Regions from separate parts of the Homo sapiens genome. Here region 2 is linked to region 1. The links are contacts of gene promoters, found by promoter capture Hi-C in human tissues and cell types (Jung and others, 2019). All regions are on one chromosome and are shown on one strand. Each heading gives the region's core, a stretch centred on a gene start or on the middle of the fragment in contact. The rest is flanking DNA. Distances are from core to core; before and after follow the strand shown.

Region 1 (6,899 bases), core at 2,249-4,748:
CCTACATTCTCAGCCTAGTTCCAACTCAAAGATCCACAGAAGATGGCTTCACCAGTAAGTTGATTGTCCTTTCCTTCCCCTCTAGTGAGGCTCCTAAAGACATCAGTACTACTCTCTCCATTTACATTTTCTGCAAAGGCAAGTCCCTTCTTCTCAACTGAGTCAGACATCAGAACCTTGAAGGCAGCCAGGAGGTAAACTGGCACTATGGGGCATTAGGTTGGCAGGTGTAAGTATAGTCCTTTTAATAACTAATGATCTCCAGTCTAAAGAAATAGCCAATTTAGGAAGACTAGGCTTCTGAAGAGAAAAACCTCAGATTTCCCTTAGCTTTTATCATACTTATTTTTTGACCTACTTGAATGTCATTGCCAGATTCAGCTTTTAGTTATTTCCATCAGTGTTCAGTCTCCATCCCTCACCTGTTGTGTCTGCCCACCTCAAACCATGATCCCCTTAGTTTGACTACATCGGATGTCAGCCACCTGCCCACCCTGAGTTATGTCTGACCTCAATTACTTGCAATCTCTTCCTGACTTCTGCCCTAATTAGACTTGTGCCTCTTGTAAAACTGGTTGCCAACAGCAACCATCAGAGAAACTTCAGTCAAATAGCACACCCTTTCCTAGTATCATTTCTATATGTATTGGCATGATAAAACGTTAGAATTTCACCTTAACTTTGGTTAACCATATATTTATTTTCTGACAAAGCACCAAAAAATGTCTTTCAAGTCTCATACTGGGTTAGGTGTGGGTTTTCCGCATAGTCCCAAATGATGAAGGAAAAATAACATGACTATGACCCTCAGGAAGGGCACTGACCTAACATTCAGTCTGGAGTTTGTTTTCTTCCTAAGCTCTATGAAGTTATGTCATCCTCTGTATTCATTTCCTAGGGCTGCCATAAGAAAGTTCCAAACACCTGAAGGCTTCAAACAACAGAAATGTATTCTTTCACTGTTATGCAGGTTAAAAGTCCAGAGTCAAGGTGTTGGCAAGGTTGGTTCTTTCTGAAGGAATATTCTGAGGAAAATTCTGTGCCCATGTCCTAGTTTCTGGTGAGGGCTACGATCCTTATATTCCTTGGCTTCTAGGTAGAGCACTTCAGTCCCTGCCTCCATCATCTTCACATGCCATTCTTCTGCGTGTCTTTGTGCTCTTCTTATAAAGACACAAGTCATCTTGAATTAAGGGCCCACCCTACTCCAGTATAAACTCCTATGAACTTCTCACATCTGCAACAACCCTGTTTCCAAATAGGGTCACATTTTGAGGTACCAGGGTCTGAGACTTCAACATATCTTTTTGGGGGATACAATTCAACCCACAATACCCCTTCACATTTTTACCACAGTCTTGATCTTGTTTTTTATCATGAGTTCCAAACAGAATTTCTTATGGTGTCCTAAAAAGAGCACACATGGCTTTGGGATTAGATAGACTGGAGTCAATCCCAGCTTCCCCCCTTACTATCTCAGAAGATGTTTCCTGTTTTGACCAGTTTTCCCATCTTCAAAATGGAGATAATATCTACCTAGCAAATAATTGGGGATATTATATTAATAATATGTGTACTAGTACATAGTAGGTTCTCAATAAATTCTATCAAGACTTTTCTTCTTAAGTGAATAATTGTTAGATAGTAGAGAACAACAGCAATTTCTATTAAAATGGACCTTTTCATTAATGCTCCCCTTTTTACTTAAATGCTTCCTCTCGATAAGGAACTTCTGTGCAAGTGTATACACAATCACACAAATTGCCAAAAGCATCACAAAGCGCTTTCAGCTTGTCAGCTTGTAAGCCTCTGACAAATACATAGAATTGTGTGAAAACGCTTTAAAACAATTGCTCCTAGCATTTTGGTCAGAATGTATTTATTAGACCGTATCTTATACTTGATTGTGAAAATAAACAAGGACATAAATGATCTGGCTTTAAATGCTCTATAAAATCTGCATTACAAGACTCTATGATTCATAAAGGAAGCTTCTATTTTGGTGTGCCTGGGTAAATTTGGCTATGCAAACTTCGAATAGCCTTTGAATTGAAAAACGCAGTTATCGTTTACTGGCTGACAACCTTTTCAAGGGAGAGAGAGGCAGGCACTGTACAACCAAAGATAACTTTACTTAATTAGTTTTTGGAAGATTATTTACTCCCCTTAGTCTATAGAAAAACAAAGGTCTGTCAGCACCAGATGCATCTGAGCTTTGCAGATGCGGTTGTGGCTTCTTGAAATCTTTAAAGATTCATCTAAAATATGCTTTCAGGTCTCCTTTTTGTGAAACTTTGACAGGATAATAGAATTAGATTTGCTGAAATTCACTAAACTGTAAAGTAATGTGTCATCAGCTTCACTTACTTTCCAAAAAATATTTCTCTCTGGTAATGCTCATCAATCTAGCTTTTCAACCCCTAAACATGAAACTCTGAAACAAAAAGGATGACTCCATCAGTTACGCAAGTGACAAGATGTTAAACATTTAACACTCCCACATAGTAGCGCCAGCTGCCTCTGGATGAAGCAGATTTGCTTAGGTTTGGCATAGAGAAAAAAAGGAAGACAAAGAGAAGAAAAATGAAAGGAAGAGGAACTCCTCTTGCAGTGAGAATGCAAAGTTCTCTGCAGATGTGCAGGAGTCTGAAGTGGGATGTGCCTTCTGCACAAACCTTTTCTTCTGAGGGAACATTGCAAAGACAGTCATCATCAGGTTCTCAACTCCTACTACCAGTGCCCCTGCATCCCCAACATTTCATGGACTCACTCTGATAAGAACACCTAGTGCACTGGATTAAAATAATGAAAGGACAGGGACTCAGTAAATTTCCACATCCCGGTATAATTTCTCAATAAATATCAGCTGAATAAACGAACTAGGAAAGCACACGTGGACCTCTGGGTCATTCGGACTCTTTCTCCACAACCATTTCCTCATCTTAGGCACCTACCTCTGCTGTAATCTCAGGCCAGTGAAACAGTATCGACTGAGCAAGCTGTGTGCTAGGTTGATTCTAACAACAGAATCCCTTGACTTTGTTAACAGCCCCAAACTGGCATCAACTTTAAAGAGTCAAGACTATTTTCCTCTTTAAGTGTCTTATCAAGAGGAATGTTAGTGAAAGGGCAAAAGTCGTCTATAGTTTTCCACGGTGAGCCATTTACCCGGATGAGGGACAGAAAAGGCCAGCTTTAGGTGATCACATAGTGACCCCATCATAAGGCTTGTTAACAGAGAAGTTTTCCTTGTAGAGTGAGGCATGCTGCAGGGGGTGCCCATTTTGAAGAATACAGTATGAAGCTCCCAACAGTGAAGACAGAATGGTATAAATAGCAACCCGTCAGTGGTAGGTGTTTGTTCTTTCACTCAGTGGACTTCTGATGAGTAACTACCATGTGCCAGGCGTTATTCCAGGCACTAAAGGATGAAGCCAGGAGGGGGTGGTGTGGGAGTGGAGATGCATATAAAGAGGAATAAGGCATATGGCTGAGATGCTGGACAGTTAACTCAGTAGGTCTCAGATTCATCATCCACCTTTTAATGTAGAGATTCACAAACTACAAGCTGTGAGACCTTTGGGTAAGTTAATTTCTTTCTTTTGGTGTTTTTGTTATGATGGCTGGATTTTTACACCTTTATTTCTCTTTCCTCACCATTTAAAGAGACAGACTTATAAACAGATGATCATGTGGGTGATGTCATCAGTACAGGAATGTCATCAGTGCAGGAATAGTTGAGTGCCATGAGCCACCCTGCAGTGTTGCCTGTTTTGCACAGTTCTAGGGGCCAATCTTGGGTTCAAGGTGGAGCTCTACTGTGTCTATGTCACTCATGTCTCATCTAGATTACCATATTATCCCTAGCTCCATGTTTGAGTCTGTACAATCACTGACAGTAAACACAGCTGCAGAAATCATGCCCCTTTATGGTCCCTCACAGGTTCGAGTCATGCCCCAGGGCTATTTCAATAAAGACTGGTGGCTGCTATATCCAGTCCCATCCAGATCTTTTCATGCTCACTGCCTGAATGAAGAGAAGAGTCTGAGGTCTCAGTGACTGGAAGGGAAGCTGCATGAAGGAAAGCTGCCCTCTTCCTTCCGATTTTCCTTGGGTACTGAACTTACTTGACTCCATGTTCTTTTATTTCTACTTCTATTGACTTTAGATCCTCATCTATAGCTTCTGCTCTACCCACACTCAACCCTTTGCTGTTCCCAAATGTACTGTGCAGGTTCCCACTTTCCTGCCTTTGTCCCTGTTGCTTCCCTTTCCTAGTACACTCTTTCTTCCTTTCTCTGCTTGGTTAACTCTGCCAAACTCAAGTGAAACGGGATGGCTTTTGGGAAGCCTACCTTGACTCTTCTCAGGCTCACAGGGCTTCCTACACATGGCTCAGTACTTATCTTCCTGTGTGTTTCTCTGACCTCCTCCCTTAAACTGTGAATTCCCCCAGGACTGAAGAGATCTCTAATCCATCATTGGGTGTCCAATATTTACTACATGATTCAATATATAAGAGCTGCTTAATAAATGATAGATAAATGCATATCCAATGGAATTAGATCAGTGAAGAGGCTAGCGTAATAGGGAAAATGACACATACATTTGTGTTTTCCACCTGTAAGTAATATATTGTTAATTCTTTAAATAAAGAAAATAAGAGTGAATTACTTGAGGTCAGGAGTTCGAGACCAGGAGTTCGAGGCCAACATGGCAAAACCCTATCTCTACTAAAAATACAAAAATTAGCAGGGTGTAGTGACGTGTGCCTGTAGTCCCAGCTACTCGGGAGCCTGAGGCACGAGAATTGCTTGAACCCGGGAGGCAGAGGTTGTGGTGAGCCGAGATCGCACCATTGCACTCCAGCCTGGGCAATAAGAGCGAAATTCCATCTCGGAAAAAAAAAAAATAGGCCGGGCACGGTAGCTCACGCCTGTAATCCCAGCACTTTGGGAGGCCAAGGCGGATGGATCACCTGAGGTGATCACCAGGAGTTCCAGACCAGCCTGGCCAACATGGTGAAACTCTGTTTCTACTAAAGATACAAACATTAGCTGGGCATGGTGGCAGACGCCTGTAATTCCAGCTACTTGGGAGGCTGAGGCAGGAGAATCACTTGAACCTGGGAGGCAGAGGTTGCAGTGAGCCAAGATCGCACCATTGTACTCCAGCCTGGGGGACAAGAGTGAGACTTCGTCTCAAAAAAGAAAAAAAGCATATTCAGTTTGCTAAAACTCTTTATACAAGAATACAAGACTAGCTATCAAAATACTGGGCCTCTCTGGGTAGGGGCAGACACAGTGCTGTGTACCTAGAGGGAAATCAACACACATTTGTGAGCTAGTTGATTAATTCCATGAACTTTTCAATGCTAGCCATATTTAATTAAACTTTATATACTGTTCAAGATCCTATATATGTCTTTCCCAAAGAGAAACGGAAGTTTATTTAACAAAGTATAACACATAGATCTGGTAGTTGGTAGTTTTGAACAAATTATAGACAAGGTGCTGTTTAATTTAATGAGCAATAATTTTTTAAAAATTCAAGAGATTTGACAATCTCTCAATAATTTTTTTCTCATTTTATTCTTTTTTGAGACGGAGTCTCACTCTGTCACCCAGGCTAGAGTGCAGTGGCGCGATGTCGGCTCTCTGCAAGCTCCACCTCCCGGGTTCAAGCCATTCTCCTGCCTCAGCCTCCTGAGTAGCTGGGACTACAGGCGCCAGGCACCATGCCCGGCTAATATTTTTTGTATTTTTAGTAGAGACGGGGCTTCACCATGTTAGCCAGGATGGTCTCGATCTCCTGACCTCGTGATCTGCCCGCCTCGGCCTCCGAAAGTGCTGGGATTACAGGCGTGAGCCACTGCACCTGGCCTCAGATCTTTTTAAAAGGTGAGAACTGATTGCCCTCTCTACTACTGATCTCAGGAAGTAAAAATCAGGGGGTAAGAAATGTAGTTAAACATCTCTAAGTCATGTTTAAACTCAGAACTGTCTACCTTTTACAAAAGAAATAAAATACCCAAAGAATACACAAGCAATAGAAAATCTGTGACATTGAAATTCAAGCTGGGCGCATAGGCTCACACCTTGGAAAGCAAGCAGATCGCTTGAATTCAGGAATTCAAGACCAGCCTGGGTGACTTGGTGAAACCCTGTCTCTACAAAAAATACAAAAATTAGCCAAGTGCAGTGGCGTATGCCTGTAGTTCCAGCTACTTGGGGAGCTGAGGAGGGAAAATCACCTGAGCCTGGGGAAGTTGAGGCTGCAGTGAGCCATAATCGCACAACTGTACTGGGTAACAAAGTGAGACCCTGTCTCAAAAAAAAAAAAAAAAAAAAAAAAAAAAAAGAAATTCAGATCACTCAAAACCAGAAAGCAGTTCATAGGTACCTTTCAAAATCAAACACAACACTCTATTCCTTAACATATATGACATGACAAAAACAACAATCAACATTTTAATATTGGTGCTTTGTCCTCAATTTTATTTATTTCATAATTTCATAATTCATTGTCCTCTATGTTAATCTGATAAAATATTATTGAAGAAAAGAGTATACGATTTATCTTGCCCTAAACAATAAAGGACAATTTTTAAAATAAAATGAAAATCATTCATTTGTGTAAAACCAATAAATTTAGATTTGTTAGTTCTCAAGCATCTTAAATCTTTTCTATTGTTATGTAGTACTCTAGCATTCAGCAGCCACATTCACAATTGACTATCGCTTTATTTTCAGGGATTATAGAGAAAAATTGAAACCCTCAAATGTCATTTTCCTGATTTCTGTCATTGTCATAAATAGCTGCTGGGTAGAAAACATCCAGAAACCTTTAAGTTATTCCAAATGGCAACTTGACTGAGGAATGGTCAACACTGTCAAAT
Region 2 (6,903 bases), core at 1,550-4,049, 91 kb before region 1:
AGCCAAATTTTCAGCTCAAGAAATAAAAACAGGGCTCAAAGAAGTGGTAACTGCTGTGGAGGAAATGACAAGTAAAGGAAAACCAGGACAAGAAGTCTTGGAAGACGACCAGGAAAATACTTTAAAATATGGTAATCAACAACACAAGTTTCTTTTGTTGTAGCTGTGGCTGTTTCGTTTGTCTTTGAAATGTGATGATCAAAATTTTCAAAAATACCCATTAAATGTTACCCAGCTGTGTTACATGTGGGGTGCCCCTGACCTCCTTCCTTTGCTGTTTTGTATGGAGTCCTGTGTCACCTACCTTAGAGGAAGGCAGACCTAGCCCCAGAAAGGTTAAAGGTTCTGGCTGCAGAGATGAGGAGAGAGAATGAGTACATGTCAATGTGAGTTAGAGACTCTATTGACTTCTGCAGAGACCATTTTCACCAAATAGAATTTTACCTATTTTAAAAGTTTTTGAATGTACTGTTTTTCATGAAATTGATGAATTGCTTTGACATCAGGTAGGTACAACCTATATGATTATATGGTGATAGAGTATGCCATAACTAAAGGCAGTTGACTATAGGCTTAGGGTTGTGGAACCTATCTGTCTGCTTTTTTTCTTTTGCTTTCTTCTTTTTTCTCTGTTCTCTCCTTCCTCTCTCCTGCCTTCCACTGCTTCTCTGTCTCCCTCTCTCCATACACATACACCCACCCACCCACCCACACACACACACAGACACACGCGCATTCATATATATACATACACACATATATATGCAGGCACATCTCATTTTATTGTGCTCACTTTATTGTGCAAGCTTTGCAAATATAGCACTTTTTATAAATTAAAAGTTTGTGGCAACCCTGCACCAAAGTCTATCAGCATCATTTTTCCAACAGCATGTGCTCACTTCATCTCTGTTTCAAATTTTCTCAATATTTCTAACTTTTTCATTATTATGATATCTGTCATGGTGATCTGTGATCAGTGATCTGTGTTGTTACTATTGCAATTGTTTTGGGGTGCCATGAGCTGTACCATGTAAGAAAGTGAAGTTAATCAATTTTCTGACTGCTCCACTGACCAGCTGTTCTCCAGTCTCTCTCCCTCTGCTTGGTCTTCTCTGTTCCCTAACCCACAACAGTATTGAAATTAGGTTAATTAATAACCCTACATAATACACTCTAAATGTTCAAGTGAAAGGAAGAGTCTCATGTTTTTCACTTTAAATAAAAAAAAAACGATTAGGCTTAGTGAGGAAGGCATATCAAAAGCCAAGACAGGCTAAAAGCTAGGCCACTTGTGCCAAGCAGTTAGCCAAGTTGTGAATGCAAAAGAAAAGTTCCTGAAGGAAGTTAAGAGTGCTACTTCAAGTGAACATGTGCATGATAAAAAAGAAATCGTTATTGCTGATATATAGAGTATTTTAGCGGTCTCAATAGAAGATCTAACTAGCCACAACATTCTCATAAGCCAAAGCTTAAGTCAGAGCAAGGCCCTAATTCTCTTCAATTCTATGAAGGCTGAGAGAGGTGAAGAAGGTGCAGGAGAAAAGTATGAAGCTAGCAGAGGTTGGTTCGTGAGGGTTAAAGAAAGAAGTCATTTCCATAGCATGAAATTGCAAGGTGAAGTAGCAAGTGCTTATGTAGGAGCTGCTGCAATTTTATCCAGAAGACCTAGCGAAGATCATTTATAAATGTAGCTACATTAAACAGCAGGTCTTCAGTGTAGATGAAAAAGCCTTACATTGGAAAAAGATGCCATCTAGGACATTCATAGCTAGAAAGGAGAAGTCAACACCTGACTTCAAAGCTTCAAAGGATAGGCTGACTCTTCTTTTATGGGTTAATGCAGCTGGTGAGTTCATGATGAAGCCAATGCTCATTTAGCATTCAAAAAATCCTAGGGCCCTTAAGCCTTATGCTAAATTTTATCTGCTTCTGCTCTATAAATGAAACAAACAAAGCCTGGATGACAGCACATCTATTTACAGCATGGTTTGCAGAGTATTTTCAGCCCACTGTTGAGACCTACTGCTCAGGGAAAAAGATTTCTTTCAACATCTTACCACTCATTGACAATGTACCTGGTCACTCAAGAACTTTGATGAAGATGTGCAGTGCGATAATGTTGTTTTCACGCCTGCTAACACAACATCCATTCTGTTGTTATCCTTATGGATCAAGGAGTAATTTTAGATCTTATTCTTTAAGGAATATATTTTGTAAGGCTATAGCTGCCATATATAGTGATTCCTCTGATGGATCAGGGCAAATTCAATTGGGAACTTTCTGGAAAGGATTCACAATTCTAGATGCCATTAAGAACATTCATGATTCATGGAAGGAGGTAAAAATATCAACATGAACAGGAGTTTGAAAGAAGGTGATTTTATTCCTCACAGGTGGCTTTGAGGAGTTCAAGCCTTTGGTGGAGGAAGTAATTGCAGATGTGGTAGAAATAGCAAGAGAATTAGAAGTGGGGCCTAAGATGAGATTGAATTTTTGCAATCTCATTATAAAACTTGAATAGATAAGGAGTTGCTTCTTAGGGATGAACAGAGAAAGAAGTTTCCTGAGATGAAATCTACTCTTGCTGAAGATGCCATGAACATTGTTGAAATGACAACAAAGAATTTAGAATATGTATAAAATGTATTAGTTGATAAAGGAGTGGCAGGATTTGAGAGGATTGAGCCCAATTTTAAAAGAGGTTTTACTGTGTGTAAATGCTGTTAAACAGCATTGCATGCTACAGATAAATCTTCGTGAAAGGAAGAGTCAATAGATGTGGCAAACTTTATTGTTGTCTTATTTTAAGAAATTTCCATAGCCACCCCAGCCATCAGCAACCACCACCCCGATCAGTCAGGAGCCACTAACATCAAGGGAATATCCTCCACCAGCAAAAAGACGATGACCAGTTAAGGCTCAGATGATTGTTAGCATCTTTTATCAATAAAGTGATTTTAGTTAAGGTGTATACATTGGGTTTTTAGATATAATGCTATTGTATATTCAACAGACAGCAGCATAGTAGAAACATAATTTTGGATGCACTGGGAAACCAAAAAATTTATATCACTATCTTTATTGCAATGGCCTGGAACTGAACCTGCAATATCCCTGAGGTATACCTGTATATCGAATATATATATAGGTATACATTCACAGATCTAGGTATGCTTGTATATACTTACATGTGTATATAGGTATGCCTGTATATGCTTATACCTAAAGCAGCAATAACAACAATAATGAAAGTGCCAAGCACTGAGCACCAAACTAGGCACTGTGCACACACTGTCTCATTTTATCCTCACCATTCAACATGATAGGTATTATTACTACTTCAATTTTACAGGCTGGGAAATTGAGGCTTAGATACACAAAAAGAAAGTAGCAGAATAAGAATTTGCACCCAGGTTTGTCTAATTCCAAAGCTCAATCTTTCAAACACTATACAACCTTCTATTCTGTACAAGTTAGCCTACCCACTAAATGGTTGTGGATAGTGTGTCCAAAGTATCAGAAAGGGAGAGCTGCTTTGTGTCCCTCATACTCAAGAGACAAAGCTTGGATAGGGGGCACAATAACCATGGGTTGGGGTACCTGTGGAAGGGCTGGCTTCGGGAAAGGGACAACTTCTAGGTATCTTCTTCCCCACCTCATATTTTTGCTGCCCAAGTGTTTCAGAAATCCAAGAGAATAATTACAGGGCTGTTATAGCACTAGACTTCATGTTTGATTATTACTGACTAAAGTGAATCTTTTACAAAAGATTTCACTTAGAGCACTTTTACCAGCTCACCATTCTTCACAATCTCTTCTAGTCTTTGTCTTATCTTGGGATGAGAATTTTAATATATCTGCAGCAATAGTAATCACAGAGGTATGAACAAATAGGATGTGTTTTCATGTGTTTTAACTTTGAAGCATGGTGGTTTATGAAAGTCATGTTCAATGAAAGCTTTTCATTTTCTTTTTTTTTCTTAAACCAACATAACTAGTGCTATGAGTGATGTACTTTATACTCATGATACCTATGATAAAGCTTTTCCTGAATTCTTTCTTCTGTGTTGGCTAGTTAATGGACTTTAAATGTCCATTTCCTTTTTTAAAAATGCAGCCACAGCCGCAAGGGTTTAGCTCTCTGCATAATAGTCGCTGATGTAAGGACAGCAAGAAGTTTGAATCAAGGTCAGCAAGAGAAGGTTGTGGCTAGATTGATGTTGACCCCGTGTTGACTCACGTCCTCATTAGTGGGGATGGTAAACAACAAGCTAATTAAATTCTCTAGAAGAAGGCAAATGGGATGGGAGAACAGAAGAAATTATGTAAAAGATTTTAGAAAGCATGTCGCTGGCTTATTCGTATCAAAAACATGAGTAGATGACACAAAGGTGGTGTGCTTTGAGCTATAATGACAGTTTGGAAGGTTTGTGGTTAACAGAAAGCTAATACTTAAATGTGATGATAGCAGGGATAGAATAAAGCCAGGGCAGCCTTGACTTTCATATTTGAGAGAAAACACAAAATACGATGCTGGGACTGTTCTTGTGGTTCACTTCGTGTTCCTTCACTTTTGTGCTGTGCCTCAATTATATAACTGTAATTGTGTCCTAATTGTGGACACTTGTACTGCTCTGATTTTAATCAGGTGCCTCCACTAAAGTGTGTTGCTGTCAAAGGAGTACATATCGTGTGTGATTTCTCCTGTTCTATAATCTACTCCCTTCACTACCCAATCACAAGGACGATTACTACTAATCCATAATATTTATTATGCCCCTGATATTCATGGCACTGTGCTAAGCATGTTCCAGGGATTATTGTTCTCAATACTCACCATAGCGTTGTATTACCCATGTTACAGATGGAGAAACTGAAGCTTAAAGACAAATTGCCCACGGTCACATAGTCAGTAAGTGTTTTAACTGGGTCTTGGGCACATGAATGCCTGATTCCCAAACCTTGACATTTCACTACTATGTAACACTATGGATGGAATTGCAGCAATCCACTCATATTCTCTCTGGCCCTCTGCTTATCTTATGGTCAGTAGCAAACTCCTGTAGTGTGATATATGTATGTGTATTCTGTAGCTAACCTTACCTTCCTCTTTTGGGAAGTCTTCCATGAGTCCCTAAAATGACTTTCCATCCTCCTTTCATTACATTCTGCTTACTTGACACTACTTCACATAATTAATTATATGTCCTATCTAAAAATCTATAGCAACCCAGCCCCATTGTGTTGAAAAACATTACTGAGGATCACATATTAAAAACTACTACAAAGTGAGTACAGTATTTCTTGTGTACCTACATCTTCTTTCCTCAATAAAAATTGGAGAGTCTTTCATGGCCGGGATTGTCTTATTGTAATGTCTTCTGTCTTGCAATTTTATCCTCTTAATCATAGAAGATTCTCAAAAAATAGGCTTATTGATTGATAGTTAACAGGGTCAGGTGAGGAATTATCCTATAACTTGGCCGGCAATACTTGGATCAAAATATTTACTCGTTTTTATTAGTAGTTTCTGTTTGTGTCTAGCAACATAAAGCAAATTCTTCATCTTCTTGCTTATTTTACAATTTTGGTTTACTGATATTCATATTTTATATTTAAATGTATTAAATTTCTTTTGTGGAAACATTTTTGTGATTATCTAATTTTCTTTGTTATAGGTTTTGATTTCACTTTTCCCCTTACATCTCCCTCATCCTCTGTATTTACAGAGCTTTCTGCATATGCACAGGGTATACATTTCTAGATTAAGTTTCTTTCACTGGGTGGACAGCTCTCAAGTAAATTACCCGAGAGGCCCCCCTCCCCCACAGAGAAGCCAGAATAGCTAATAACTAAAACACACAAAATTGAGAAACATTTATTCTCTCGGTAATTTTTACTTTAAGGATAATTGTTTATTTGCTTAATTGGTTCTGCATGAGATCCTTTTGCTCTCTATCCTTGGCATGTTGTCACTTCAAGATTTTTAGTTTTTGGTGGAAGAAAAAGGGGAACAGTTAAATATGAAAGGTGAAAAATTATAACCACGAGGGACAGCTGGAGTTTATCTGATGTGACAATTTCCTTTTCCTGCTACAGATTTATAGCACCTCTGCAGGGAATAAAGCAAATATGTGGCTGTGACAGGAATATTCTATTTTGTGTAAATTTTTATCATTGAAATGTAATTATTTCATTTATTGTAGGAATGAATAATGCATATGATTTCATTTCTGGCCTACATATAGAATCCTTCATAATGCCTTTTCTTGATGTCCATTTGTTTCTTAAATAATGTGCTATTCACAGTGTTACTTCTCAGGGCTCTTGGACTTGATTAATTGAATTTTTCCACTTCACTATTCATTAAGTTGATATCCAAATATTTTGAACATTTTTCATATGAAATATGACCTCACTGGATCTCCAAATTAACTTTCATTATTATAATCCTGTTCTCTTCATTTTTAATTTATTTCTAATTTATTGTTTTATATCAAGTTCTTCTCTTTCCATTTTGGTTATTTTAGATGATGATGTTCATTTGTAAATGAACTTTTATTAGGTTTCAGCCTTGTCATTTGGAGCTTCATTTCTTTTGTGCTCTTGTGTATGTAACTGATTGGAATCTTTGATCATTTGCTGTTAGTTTTCCATGTTCACTAATTGAACGAAAAAGAAGAAGCAAAGAAAGGCTCAGAGAAGAGAGGATAATGGAGTCAAAGTTCTCATTAGAGAGAAATAGGTTAAGTATAAGGGGTTCTATTTTCATTCTTATAGTGGAGATTTTCCTATTTCAGAGTATGAAGAAGACTTTGAAGTAGATGAGGAGAAACAAGGTGAAAAATCTAATGAAGAAGGACAGGCTGATGTTCAAATGAATGGAATACCGCAGTCACCTTT

What was found. Contacts are between HindIII fragments. The study calls those that stand out against the background at their distance.
Region 2: a fragment that was not itself captured here is called in contact with the fragment with the promoter of LRRC53 in region 1 in 2 of the 25 tissues and cell types used here (H1 embryonic stem cells and bladder).

Annotation. Positions count from the first base shown.
Region 1 is chr1:74,509,210-74,516,108 of GRCh38, reverse strand. It overlaps LRRC53 (leucine rich repeat containing 53), which reads left to right and starts at 3,498. Exons shown (of 5, transcript NM_001382280.1): 1 at 3,498-3,583. All of the region lies in intron 25 of FPGT-TNNI3K (FPGT-TNNI3K readthrough), which reads right to left. All of the region lies in intron 23 of TNNI3K (TNNI3 interacting kinase), which reads right to left. The HindIII fragment of the contact is 11,973 bases long and covers 382-6,899 here.
Region 2 is chr1:74,599,829-74,606,731 of GRCh38, reverse strand. ERICH3 (glutamate rich 3) reads left to right here. Exons shown (of 15, transcript NM_001002912.5): 10 at 1-131; 11 at 6,801-6,903. All of the region lies in intron 1 of ERICH3-AS1 (ERICH3 antisense RNA 1), which reads right to left. Among named protein-coding and RNA genes, the nearest start is that of ERICH3-AS1, 26 kb to the right of the region's middle. The HindIII fragment of the contact is 3,324 bases long and covers 1,138-4,461 here.